2 separate regions of the Homo sapiens genome follow, and region 1 is linked to region 2. Evidence: promoter capture Hi-C in 16 types of primary human blood cells and fetal thymus (Javierre and others, 2016). All regions are on one chromosome and are shown on one strand. Each heading gives the region's core, a stretch centred on a gene start or on the middle of the fragment in contact. The rest is flanking DNA. Distances are from core to core; before and after follow the strand shown.

The links. Contacts are between HindIII fragments. The CHiCAGO score rates a contact against its expected background, and 5 or more counts as called.
Region 1: a contact is called between a fragment that was not itself captured here and the fragment with the promoter of TPCN2 in region 2, in 1 of 17 cell types (fetal thymus). The highest score is 5.0, in fetal thymus.

Annotation. Positions count from the first base shown.
Region 1 is chr11:68,756,438-68,762,463 of GRCh38, forward strand. CPT1A (carnitine palmitoyltransferase 1A) reads right to left here. Exons shown (of 19, transcript NM_001876.4): 16 at 5,098-5,250; 17 at 3,788-3,901; 18 at 3,132-3,224; 19 at 1-1,293. The coding sequence ends at 1,207. Among named protein-coding and RNA genes, the nearest start is that of TESMIN, 7.9 kb to the left of the region's middle. The HindIII fragment of the contact is 686 bases long and covers 1,433-2,118 here.
Region 2 is chr11:69,047,151-69,053,150 of GRCh38, forward strand. It overlaps TPCN2 (two pore segment channel 2), which reads left to right and starts at 1,782. Exons shown (of 25, transcript NM_139075.4): 1 at 1,782-1,956. The coding sequence starts at 1,848. RefSeq lists silencers at 1,520-1,739, 1,860-2,029, 2,110-2,209 and enhancers at 4,186-4,760, 5,911-6,000. The HindIII fragment of the contact is 3,554 bases long and covers 1,522-5,075 here.

The DNA.
Region 1 (6,026 bases), core at 526-3,025, 290 kb before region 2:
GCACTGTCACTTGAGACATCTTGGCTGGTCACCAAGGTGAGCCGGCATACTGTCTCCATCACCCTCTGGTGAGTCTTTCCCCTCACCGGGTGGGAGGAGAAGGCCATCCCTTGGGGTCGTGGAGCCACTCTCTCCTCACCACGGTGGGCTGCCCTCCCCTTCCTCACTTGCTAGTCCCCGCTTGGTGGCCGATGCCCTGCCCTCCTTGCTGTCACTTTGGGAAAGAGATCCTCCTGAGGCACGTGTCATGTTTTATTCTTGAGTGAATTATCTGACCATCACGGCCCTTGCTCCCCTTTTATGACATGTGCCTGTTATTTCTTTTGTTGCTTATGATGACAAGAAGGCAGTCCCGGGAGGGGAGTCTGGCACAGCTGCCCTTGGGAAGGAACTGGTGTTTCTGAGGGGGAGGGGGCTGGTGGGGTGTAGCAAATGCTTATGTACGGTTATCCATACTCAGTCAATTGTGAAGGGAACAGTATACCCACAATTCCACCCAAAGACTCTACAAAATAAATCTTTCTCTCCATCTCCCTTACATTTAGGGCCTTTCATTTTTAAGGCACTGGGTTGTGAAGACTTGAAGACATACAAGGTCAGTAAAACTGAAGACCTTGCATCCTGCTTGCTTCAAATGTGGAGAGGCAAACACAGGCTACTGGACCAGACGGGAACGGTTACCCACGGTGACAAAAGCAGGTCTCCAAAGCACAGCATTTTGGTTAGTGCATTCCAGATGTGTTAGCTACAACTGGGGACACCAACTTGAATAACACATTTTTCTTTTAACAAAACAAAAGTTTACCCTGCTTGGATGATGCTAAATGCCCTTAAGCACTAGGCCTTCGGTTGCCACTGAGAAAGCACACCATTTCCATTCCACTGTGTGTGAAGCCACAACCCTACTAATTCCTTCATTAACTCAACAAGATTTGCATCCCTTAATAAATCCAAGCCGATGCGGAGACATCAGGGGAGACTTTATCAGATGTCCCCCAAGGGAGGGCAAGTCTGGAAGTAGTGGGGTTATGCTTCACAGGGGAGAGATACTGTTCTAGGAAAAAAAAACACCCACATTTTCTGGAAGGAAAACTGAGTTTTTTTAAGAGCAGTGTTTCATCCCGAGCTAAGGTCAGGATTAATGCCTATTTTTCATTTGGTTTGCATCAGAAGAGCTCGTTTTCCTTCCCAGCAGCTCCAGTGGAATTACTTTTTGGAATTAGAACTGAGACCAAACAAAGTGATGATGTCAGTCATTGCTTCTTTCAGGTGCCTTCCAAAGCGATGAGAATCCTTTCATGTAAAAACAAAAACCAAAAACCTATTAAAACGTGGCCATCCCCACATTTCAAGCTTTTTCATTTGCAATCTGACCCAATGTTTCATTGAAATTCCTTTCTGCCAGTTCTCTAAGATCTGACCAACGTCTTAAAGCTTAACTTAGACATTCCAGAGAAATGCTGAGGGTAAAGAGATGACAGCTGATGTGTTTGTGCGGGTGTGTTGTCGATCTAAGCCTTCCCCTAATGCCAATGCGTTTATCCCACGGAAAACACAATGACCATCCTGAGCATGGTGGCTCATGCCTGTAATCCCAGCACTTTGGAATCGCTTGAGCCCAGGAGTTCAAGACCAGCCTGGGAAACATGGTGAAACCACATTTCTACAAAAAATACAAAAATCAGCCAGGTGTGGTGGCACTCCCCTATAGTCCCAGCTACTCAGGAGGCTGAAGTAGGAGGATCCCCTGAGCCCAGGAGGCTGAAGCTGCAGTGAGCCGAGATCACACCACTGCACTCTAGCCTGGGTGGCAGAGTGAGACCCTGTCTAAAACAAACAAACAAACAAACAACAAAAGAAAACCGCAGTGAACAAATAAACCCCAACTTCCTCTGTTAACAGCGACAGTGGCATGGGTTGCCAGGCTATGTACGACAAGGAAAGCAGAATATAAATAAGGGCAATGTGCCATGCTAGGGAGGAGGTCCCTTGTTCCATCCACAGAGGAAGCCGGGGGTCCCCTGCTCTGTATGCAGATTTCTTAGTGTGTACCCATTATTTTTAGTTCATCTTCCAAGTGCTAAAGAGTCTGAAAGTTACAGCAGCACTCCAACGTTAAGCTTCAAAACCATTGCTGCCAACAGAGGTAAACATGTTAAACCAAATTAGATACATTTCCTTTTTTTTTTTTTTTTTTCTGAGACGGAGTCTCACTCCATCACCCAGGCTGGAGTGCAGTGGCATGATCCTGGCTCACTACAACCTCCACCTCCCGGGTTCAAGCGATTCTCCTACCTCAGCCTCCTGAGTAGCTGGGATTACAGGCGTGTGCCACCACACCAGCTAAGTTTTGTATTTTTAGTAGAGGCGGGGTTTCACCATGTTGGCCAGGATGGTTTCAAACTCCTCACCTCAAGTGATTGGCCAGCCTCAGCCTCCCAAAGTGCTGAGATTATAGGTGTGAGCCACCGTGCCTGGCTGAGATACATTTGTTTAAAACTAGGTAAAGAGAATTTTGAAATTCACTTATGGCTGGGCACAGTGGCTGAAGCCTGTAATCCCAACACTGGGAGGCTGAGGTAAGAGGATCGCGTGAGCCCAGGAGTTCAAGACTTGCCTGGGAAATGTGGGGAGACCCTGTCTGTACAAACAATTTTTTAATTAAAAAAATTTAGGCCAGGCGCGGTGGCTCATGCCTGTAATCTCAGCACTTTGGGAGGTCGAGGCAGGTGGATCATCTGAGGTCAGGAGTTTGAGACCAGCCTGCCCAACATGGTGAAACCCTGTCTCTACTAAAAATACAAAAAAATTAGCCGGGGTAGTGGCGGGTGCCTGTAGTCCCAGCTACTTGGGAGGCTGAGGCAGGAGAATCACTTGAGCCCGGGAGGCAGAGGTTACAGTGAGCCAAGATCTCGCCCCTGCACTCCAGCCTGGGCGACAGAGTGAGACTGTGTCTCCAAAAAAAAAAAAATTTTTTTTTAAAAGCAGTCCATTTATGTGAAAATTCCCGAAATCAAGTAAAAGCAGGCAGTTGAATTGACTTTTTCTGTCAAATTAAAGATGTGTTTCCTTAAAAAGAATAAAGCAAAAATACCCCATCTTCAGAAAAAGGAACTTCTTTTCATACATACCGTCTCAGGGCAAGAGAACTTGGAAGAAATGTGGAAATTGATGAGGTTCTCTCCCACAAGGATGTACGACACACCATAGCCGTCATCAGCAACCTGGAGGACAAGGGAATTTGAATTTGTTGCTGGGAAATGAGACAACGTGAAAAAGGGACTTTCTAATGTTCTAAATGCAACACTGGCGGGGCTCGGTGGCTTCTCCTTGTAATCCCAGCATTTTGGGAGGCTGAGGCAGGCGGGTCACTTGAGCCCAGGGGTTCGAGACCAGCCCGGACAACATGGTGAAACCCTGTCTCTACAAAAAAATACACACACACACACAAATTAGCTGGGCATGGTGGCATGCATCTGTAGTCCCAGCTACTCAGGAGGTGGAGGTGGGAGGATCACCTGAGATGGGGGAGATTCAGGCTGCCATGAGCCATGATCATGCTTACTGCACTCCAGCCTGGGTGACAGAGCGAGACCTTGTCTCAAAAAAATAAAAAATAAGTGCAAGACTGCCAAGGACATCCATAGCAATGATCAGCAGTAATTCCTTTACGGCGGTAGAACCGCAAGGTAACGGGGGCACCCAGCACGGAGATGGGCCCATCACACCCCATTACCCATCCCATCACCACGCCCCACTGCGCCTCGCCCAGCCCCGCCGCACTCACCGGTCCAAAGCCCCCTCCGCTGGACACGTACTCTGGGTTATTCTCCAAGTCAAACAGCTCCACTTGCTGCTGAGGGGTCTGGCTTGTTGATAATCTCCAAGGCTCAGATAAAACCTATTGAGTGAAACAGGGAAATGTTTCCTAATCCCCTCCTCTACCGTCCCTCAGGAGTCGCTTTGGGAAGACGAGAAAAGCCTGGCTTGGTCTTTTGATTGTTCCACACACCACAAGTCTATGTCTCCAAAGGCCTCACTGGCTTGGGCAGCGTATCTGCAGAGAGCATGCGGGGTGGGTGGGGCCCCCAGACTGGGGCAGGGAGTGCAGGGTGGGGGTGGGGGCATACCAGCAAATAGCATCTCAGACAGTGAAGGTAACAGATATATGGAGTAAGATTCGGAACGGGGACAGAGGTGTCAGACTTGTACCAACTCCCACGAGCCAGCTGCCATATTTTCAGAGAATTTTCAAGCTGGCTATTAAATACAGCCACTATTAAAAATTAAATTTGCCAGGCGCAATGGTTCATGTCTGTAATCTCAGCACTTTGGGAACCCGACGCGGGTGGATTGCCTGAGCTCAGGAGTTCGAGACCAGCCTGGGCAACACGGTGAAACCCCGTCTCTACTAAAATACAACAACAAAAAAAATTAGCCAGGCATGGCAGCGTGTGCCTGTAATCCCAGCTACTTGGGAGGCTGAGGCAGGAGAATAGCTTGAACCCGGGAGGCGGAGGTTTCAGTGAGCCAAGATGGCGCCACTGCACTCCAGCCTGGGTGACAGAGCGAGACTCCATCTCCAAAAAATAAAAAATAAATAAATAAATAAATAAAACTTAAATTAAATTTGAGCTGGGCACAGTGGTGCACATCAGCTACTCAGCAGGCTAAGGACGAAGAATTGCTTGTGTCTAGGAGTTTGAGCCCAGCCTGGGCAACACTGTAAGACCCTGTCTCAAAAAACAATAATAATATATTTCATAAACTTACAATAAAATAAAGGATTTTTAAAACAAAGGTGGTACGCGCTCACAGCTCATCACTCCCTAGTTACTTCCGTGCGTCTTACTGTGACGTAAGCTCTCGAGGTCTTCGGGTCTATTAAGTCAGGGGCTACATGTGACAGCGAAGTTTTTGAAGAAATGCAGTACTAAACGCGCTGCTCACATTTTCCATTTTATGACAGCTACACCCACAGACCCGTTTTTTTCAAATGCCCATTCTGACATTAAAATATGTTCATGCAAGGCTGTAGTAATTTACTAAGTTTTGGTCTAGCCAATACAACTGACGGAAGAAGTGGAAGAGACTTACTTCCTTAAGGAAAGGGGACTCCACAGCGAGATATTTAGACACCACGTAAAGGCAGAAGAGGTGACGATCGATCCCAGAGCCGGTCATGGCGAGGCGATACATATGCTGATGCTTCTCAGACGCCAACTTGAACAACTTCAGCCTCTGTTCCACCTGAGTGACAAAAGGTGGGAAGGACATATGTTGCATGTCTCAAGTTGAGCAGTTACGGATCTAAGTTAGCCACCGCACCCGGCTAATATTTTTTGTTATTTTTAGTAGAGACGGGGTTTCAACATGTTGCCCAGGGTGGTTTCGAACTCCTGAGCTCAGGCAATCCGCCCACCTCATCCTCCCAAAGTACTGGGATTACAGGCGTGAGTCACCGCGCCCGGTCTGACAGCCTTTCCAGAATGAAGTTTGTCTCGGAAAAAAGAGCCCTGGCCAGTGTCTCCTCTGGGGATCAGCGGAAAGCACCTGCACGCTCTGGGGATCAGCAGAAAGCACCTGCACGCTGGAGTCAGGCGGACCCAGTGGCCTGGGTCTGACCTCGGCCATTAGTGAGCAGAATGGCCCAGCAGCTGCTGAATTCATCTAGGCCTCTGTTTCTTTATCTATGGAAATGAACTGATGACACTTCTCAGGACCACTGCTAAGAAAATTTAAAGGACAATGTACAGAAAACCCCCAGGCCCCAGCCTGGCACTTGGGGCCCAGCGTGGCAATGGCTCTAATAACCAATGGAAGGTCCCGTGCGACAGTCACAGCTCACCTACCCTGACACCAACCACCTGTTCAGTTCCAAAGCAGCCACCTGCTATGCCTTTCCTCATTGTGTGTCCTGGCCTAATTTAAAGACTCTCAGGAAGTAGAATATGATTTGGAGAAGTATCATTTGTAACATGCGTCTCTGTCCTTGTCCCTACCTTTACCTTTTAATATTTTAATAC
Region 2 (6,000 bases), core at 532-3,031:
GAGATAAGAGACAAAGGTTGCATTCTTGTGAGTCTTTGATCAGACTTTCACTGAAATACACAATTTACAGGTTGCGGGGGTAGAGGAATAGTCACTTATGCCTTAGTCTGGCTCGGTGAATCTGCACTTTTATACCAGAGGAAGCAATCAGGTGAGCAGAGGGATGACTTAGAGTTCCATCCTTTGTTTGGAACCTGTGAAGATCAGTTGTCAATGTACATTGTTAGGGTAAAATTCAACAAAACTGTTTTAGGGTAAAGATCTTGGGTGCCCACGAAAAATTTCCTAGCGGGCAAATTGTGAGGGAGGTATGTAGCTTTTTAAATCTTCGTAGCTATTTTATTAAAGAAGAAAAGGCGAGGCAGTTTGCCCAACGCAGTTCCCAGCTTGACTTTTCCCTTTGGCTTAGTGATTTTGGAGTCCTGAGATTTATTTTCCTTTCACAGTTATGATGGTAAATTTTATATTTATTTTAAACCCTCCCCCCTCCCCAAAAGAGGGGGAAAAAGTAAAGAGGTATGGCAGAAGGGGAAGTCACAGAGATTGGAAGCGTCTTGCAGCACCTTTTTTTTTGAGATGGAGTCTCGCTCTGTTGCCAGGCTGGAGTGCAGTGGCGCAATCTCAGCTCACTGCAATTTCCGCCTCCCGGGTTCAAGCGATTCCCCTGCCTCAGCCTCCGAGTAGCTGGGACTATAGACACGTGCCACCACGTCTGGCTAACTTTTTGTATTTCAGTAGAGACGGGGCTTCACCATGTTGGCCAGGATGGTCTCGATCTCCTGACCTCGTGATCCACCTGCCTCGGTCTCCCAAAGGGCTGGGATTACAGGCGTCTTGCTGCATCTCGAAGCGTCTTCAGCGTGCTCTTGCTTGCTGGCTCTGATGATGGAGGTGTTCAAGCCATCGTGGAAGGAATGCAGTGGCCTCTAGGAGTGAGAATGACACCAGCCAACATCCAGCAAGAAGACGTGGACTTCAGTCCTAGGCCCATGGAGACAATTCTGTTAACATCCTGGATGAGCCTGGAAGTGGGCTTTCCCCAGAGTCTGCAGATAAGAGCCCACGGCAGCTGACATTTTGACTCTAGCCTCGTGAGGCCCTGAGACAGGAGGTTTCCTGCCCCGCAGGACTGAAAGATGATGAATGGGAGTTATTTTATATTTTCAGATTGTGGTAATTAGTCACTGTAGCAATAGAAAACGAATACAAGGTCTTTATGCATTAATGTTGAAAACACTTTTTATATACGTTGTAAATATTTTTTAAGTGTGTCATATGTTTTTAAACTTTTCCCTTAATGATATTGAATCCTCCTAATTTCACCATCAGAGGGTAAACTCCAGTTCCATTCTGGGGGGAGTCCTTTGCAGTCACCCCGTGTACTCAATACTCACATGCATCAGAATCACCCCGAATGCTTGTTAAAACACAGATTCCTGGGTCCTCCCCGCAGAGTTGCTGATTTAGTAGGTTTAAGGGCCCAAGAATTTGCATTTCTAAAATGTTTCCAGGTGATGCTGAAGCTTCTGGCCGGAAAGACATCCTTTGAGAACATATTTCCTCCCCAGCCCTCGGCCCTTAAGCCCCAGAACGCTGCCCCGCCCTGGGTGGAACGAAGCTGAGCTCCACCCTAGAGGGGCGGGGCCCTTTAGCTCCGCCCCACTCAGGAGAACCCCACCCCTCCCTCCCCGTTCTCATTGGCTGGGACTGCAGGGATCCCCTGCGCCACAGTGCCGTGCGCGCGTCAGCAAAAACGCCAGGGACGGGGTCTCCGCGCCTGCGCAGTGAAGCTGGGCGCCTTCGGGGCTTGAGCTTCTGAGGGTCGGGTCCAGCGCGTGGGCTGCTGGATGGCGGAACCCCAGGCGGAGTCGGAGCCCCTGCTGGGCGGGGCCCGCGGCGGTGGCGGCGACTGGCCGGCGGGGCTGACCACTTACCGCAGCATCCAAGTCGGCCCTGGTGAGCCGCCCGGACCTGGGGAGGGGACTGGCCCGGGAGACCAGGGTCGCGCGTGGGGGTCCCGCTGTCCCAGCACCCCGCTTTCTGCCGGGCGCGCCCCCACCAGGTTCGAGTCCGAGCGGGGCCCGGGCCGCGCCGGGTGCCAGGCGAGCCGGTGTTCTGAGGGCGAGTGGGCTGCGTCCTGCGGACCCGGACCGGGGTCAGGGCAGAGCTGGGGTCTCTTCCGTGTCGCGTCCTGATCCCGACCAGCTGGGCGAAGAGGCCCTCGCCCAGCCTTGGGCAGCCCCGAGGGAACCGGCCACCTGCGGCAGGCACCCTCCGTGTGCCCGGGCGGGCCCAGACCCCATACTTCCCGACTGTCGCCGTAATGAGGGTCGCCTAATTGACTCAGAGAAGGCAGCACTTTGATTTTTCCCGTTTCTTCTGGAAAAAGCAGAGGCTCACAGAGAGGCGTTACCCTACCCAAGGTCACACACCCAGTAAGTGGCCGAGGTGGGATTCGAACCAGTTGGGAGCTAGGAGTCCTTTCTTTGTAGGGTGCCTTTCCCCGTCCCACTTCCCGTGGGGCTGGGGCGGGCCCCCTAGACGGGGGCGGCTTCCTCTCCTTGCCCTCTGCCACCCCAGAGTCCCCTCTGCACTCCCTCCTGCCCTTCCCGTTTTTTGTCCTGGTCTGAAGATTGCTGAATCCGCCCCCCGAGGGTGGGGTGCGTCCGCCCCTCGCTGACACCAGGGGAATGAGATTCTGGATTAAGAGGTGGAAGGACCTTAGCTTCACTTCACAGATGAGGAAACTGAGGCCCAGAGAGGCCCTGAGACCTGCCCAAGGTCACAGCCCTCTGTTCTGGTGCGGCTGCTGCTCGAACCACTCTGAGAATTCACACCTGGCTCCTTCCCTCTCTGGCCTCTCTTTCCTTCTTTCCTCCTCTGTCTGGAAGGAACTGGGTTGGAATCCTGGTGCCCACCCACTGGTCTGTGGCATGTGCCCATCCATGGAGTAATGAGGGGCCAAGGAGGGGACCCTGACGAGAGATGAAAAACCAGAGGCCAAGGTGGCCACCCTGTCTGCTCACCTCAGAAGCTGCCTCCAGGAAGTTCTTCAGGTGCTTCCTGGGACCAGTCAGGAAGGAGATCTGCAGGGAGCAGCTCTGGCAGGCCCCTTGATGAGACGCCCAGCATATGGCACCGTTCAGGGAACACAGACTTTGTGTCTAGGGGTCTGGGCGCCTTTCTGGGGCTGCACTGGCTGTGTGACCTTGGCAGGTTGCTTAACCTTTCTGTTTCTTTTTTGAGATGGAGTATCACTCTGTCACCCAGGCTGGAGTGCAGTGGCGTGATCTCGGCTCACTGCAGCCTCTACCTCTGCTGGGTTGAAGCGATTCTCCCGCCTCAGCCTCCCAAGTAGCTGGGACTGCAGGCGCCCGCCACCACACTTGGCTAATTTTTGTATTTTTAGTAGAGATGGGGTTTCACTGTGTTGGCCAGGGTGGTCTCAAACTCCTGACCTCGGGTGATCTGCCTGCCTCGGCCTCCCAAAGTGGTGGGATTACAGGCGTGAGCCACTGTGCCTGGCCATGCTTCACCTTTCCGAATCTCAGTAAAAGGGAGATAATACTAAGGACTGCCTGGCGGGCATTGTGAGGATTCAGAGAGAATCCAGAGTTTGTCCTCAGCACAGGGCCCGGCGGGCTGGTGTGGGGGCCAGTGGCCGTCCTGGGTAAGCTCTGTGATCATTGCAGGTCCTCCCTGGCAGGTGAGACCCGCTCTGCTGGGCAGTGTGGCTGACAAGAGGAGGCTCTCGGGGAGCGCTCTTTGTCCCTATGCTGTGGCCTCAGCCAGGGCTTCTGAGAACGTGGACAGGACGCTCTGTGTTCTGAATCCCCTTGGCCAGGGTCCCCAGCAAGGACTGGCAGACTATGGAGCCATGGAGACTCCGAAAGGCTCATTCAGTCTCTGTGCTGAGGCCTGTGCCAGGCTTTGAAATGAAGGCCCTGTGCTCTGGTTTGCAAGTCCTGTGGTTGGTCTCTTGCCAACGGGTTGTGGTGAGGGCTGCTGCTGTGGGTGCCCCAAGGACCCCAGTGGACCCTGCTGTTGGGTCGTTTTGACTTGGCCCCACCTGATGGGGCCGGGGTCAAAGGTTGAGAACAGTTGTTTTCTCTTGTTGCTGGGTCAGAAAAATCACACTTTTACTGGTTATCAAACAAGTCAGAGGACAAGGGATTGCGATGCTGTAGAGGCTTTCAGAGTAACTGAATGCTTATGAAGGGCTCACTTAGCAAAGTACTCTGGCTATAGTAAGTCATTCAGTCTGTACTTAGCTCCTATTGGGTGGGGGTCCATGAGGACCTGGAGCACCTAGAGGTTAAGGGACTTGCCCAGGGTCACAGAGGATGATGGTCAGGACCCTACACAGGTTGTGCAGCCTGGAGCCTGGAGCAACAGGGGAGCGGGAGCTCAGACCTGGATGTTGCGGGGCAGAGGCTTGGATTAGGAAGCCGTGTCGAGGCCTGGTGTGCCGGATGCAGCATCTCAGCCCCTGCTGTCCTCTGTGCCTTGCAGAACCCTTCAGCCCCAGTGGGTGATGGTGTGTGGAAAGGTGATTGTCCCCCAGGGTGATGAGCTCAGGGCGGGGCGAGCTGTCCCAAGGGAGTCCCTGGACTCACAAATTGGGGGATGGTGCTCCTGGCAGAAGCAGCAGCCTGAGTAAAGGGTTGGAGGCTTTGGAGAGCATGGCCTTGGCAGAGCCCAGTTCGGAATGAGTGGCACTGAGGGTTGAAAGGCAGGAGAGAGGCGGGCCGGCAAATGTGGGAACCTGCAGTGCCAGACCAGGGTGGAGTGTGGGCCTGGAATAGTGGGGGCCCAGGGGAAGCTGCGATGTGCTTCTGAGTGTTTGGAACGAGATCCTTGGGCTGTTGCAGGGTGAAACGGAGGATGGCCAGACCCAGAATTTTACAAACCAGCAACCAAAAAGCCAGGCGAAAGGGAACCACGAGTGCTGGATGGTTCCAGGGGTGCCCACCACTGTTGGCCTGGGATGGCTGGCCTGGGTGGATGTGAGTACTTTCCGTGGTCCTGGGGCTGGAGTGAGGCCCGGAACTCGGCCGCTTGTCTCTTGTCTAAGAAGCTTGTATCACTAGATCTCTCCTGGTAGAGATTTTGTCTTCTCCCAGGGAATCTGGTAAGGTGGGGCCTCTCAGATCACCGGCCCCCCAGGCTCCCCTCAGGGCTGTTCATTTATTCATGGGATATATCAGCTTTGAGTCCTGTGTGCTTGACTTCTGGGCTCTGCAGATACAGCAGGGAACAAAACAGTGTGGCTTCTGTTCATAGCGATCCCAGGATGTGCTCAGGGGACATAAACAGTAGCCACTTTCAGAGCTTCCCTGGGGAGACATTCGGGTGTCCTCAGGGTGGGTCTCGTGGCTGTGCATGTGGGCACCAAAGCCACAGGGAGGGAAGGCTCTTGCTCCCGGCAGTGCAGCAGGGCCGGGCAGAGTGAGGGTGGGGTCCGGTCTCCTGCCTCTGTCTGGGGCCCCTCACACCTCTAATCCGTCCAGGGCCCAGCTGCCTATACCTCATGCCCCCAAGCAGGAGCCCCGAGGACAGGGGCAGCTGCCTCCCTAAGGATGGCCAGTGGCGTGGGCGGGTCATGGCCTGGAGCTCTGCCTGGGGACCAGCACCTCCTGAGGCCTCTGCTGCTGCCTCCCATGTCACCACATTGTCTTGGTGCAGCTGTGGGCCCCAAGGGGCCAGGTGTGAAAGCCGAGTCTCAACTGAAAAAGCAGCTGCTTCACCCTCTCCCCGTGCTGGGAAGTGTCAGCCTCTCCGGGCTCCTCAGTTGCTTCGGGTTGAGTTTTCCTTCCCTGTTGGCCTGCTGGGGAGCAGCTCTGCAGCGAGGCCAGAGGTGGCCCGTGCCTACGATGCGGGTGGGTGGCCCAGGCTCCCTGCAGTGGCTCAGTGGCTGACCAGGTGCGCCCGCTGGCTGCTCTGTGGCAGGTGAGGGGCTTGTGAGCAGGCCAGGGTGCTGGGTCCTGGCTTCTGTGCCGC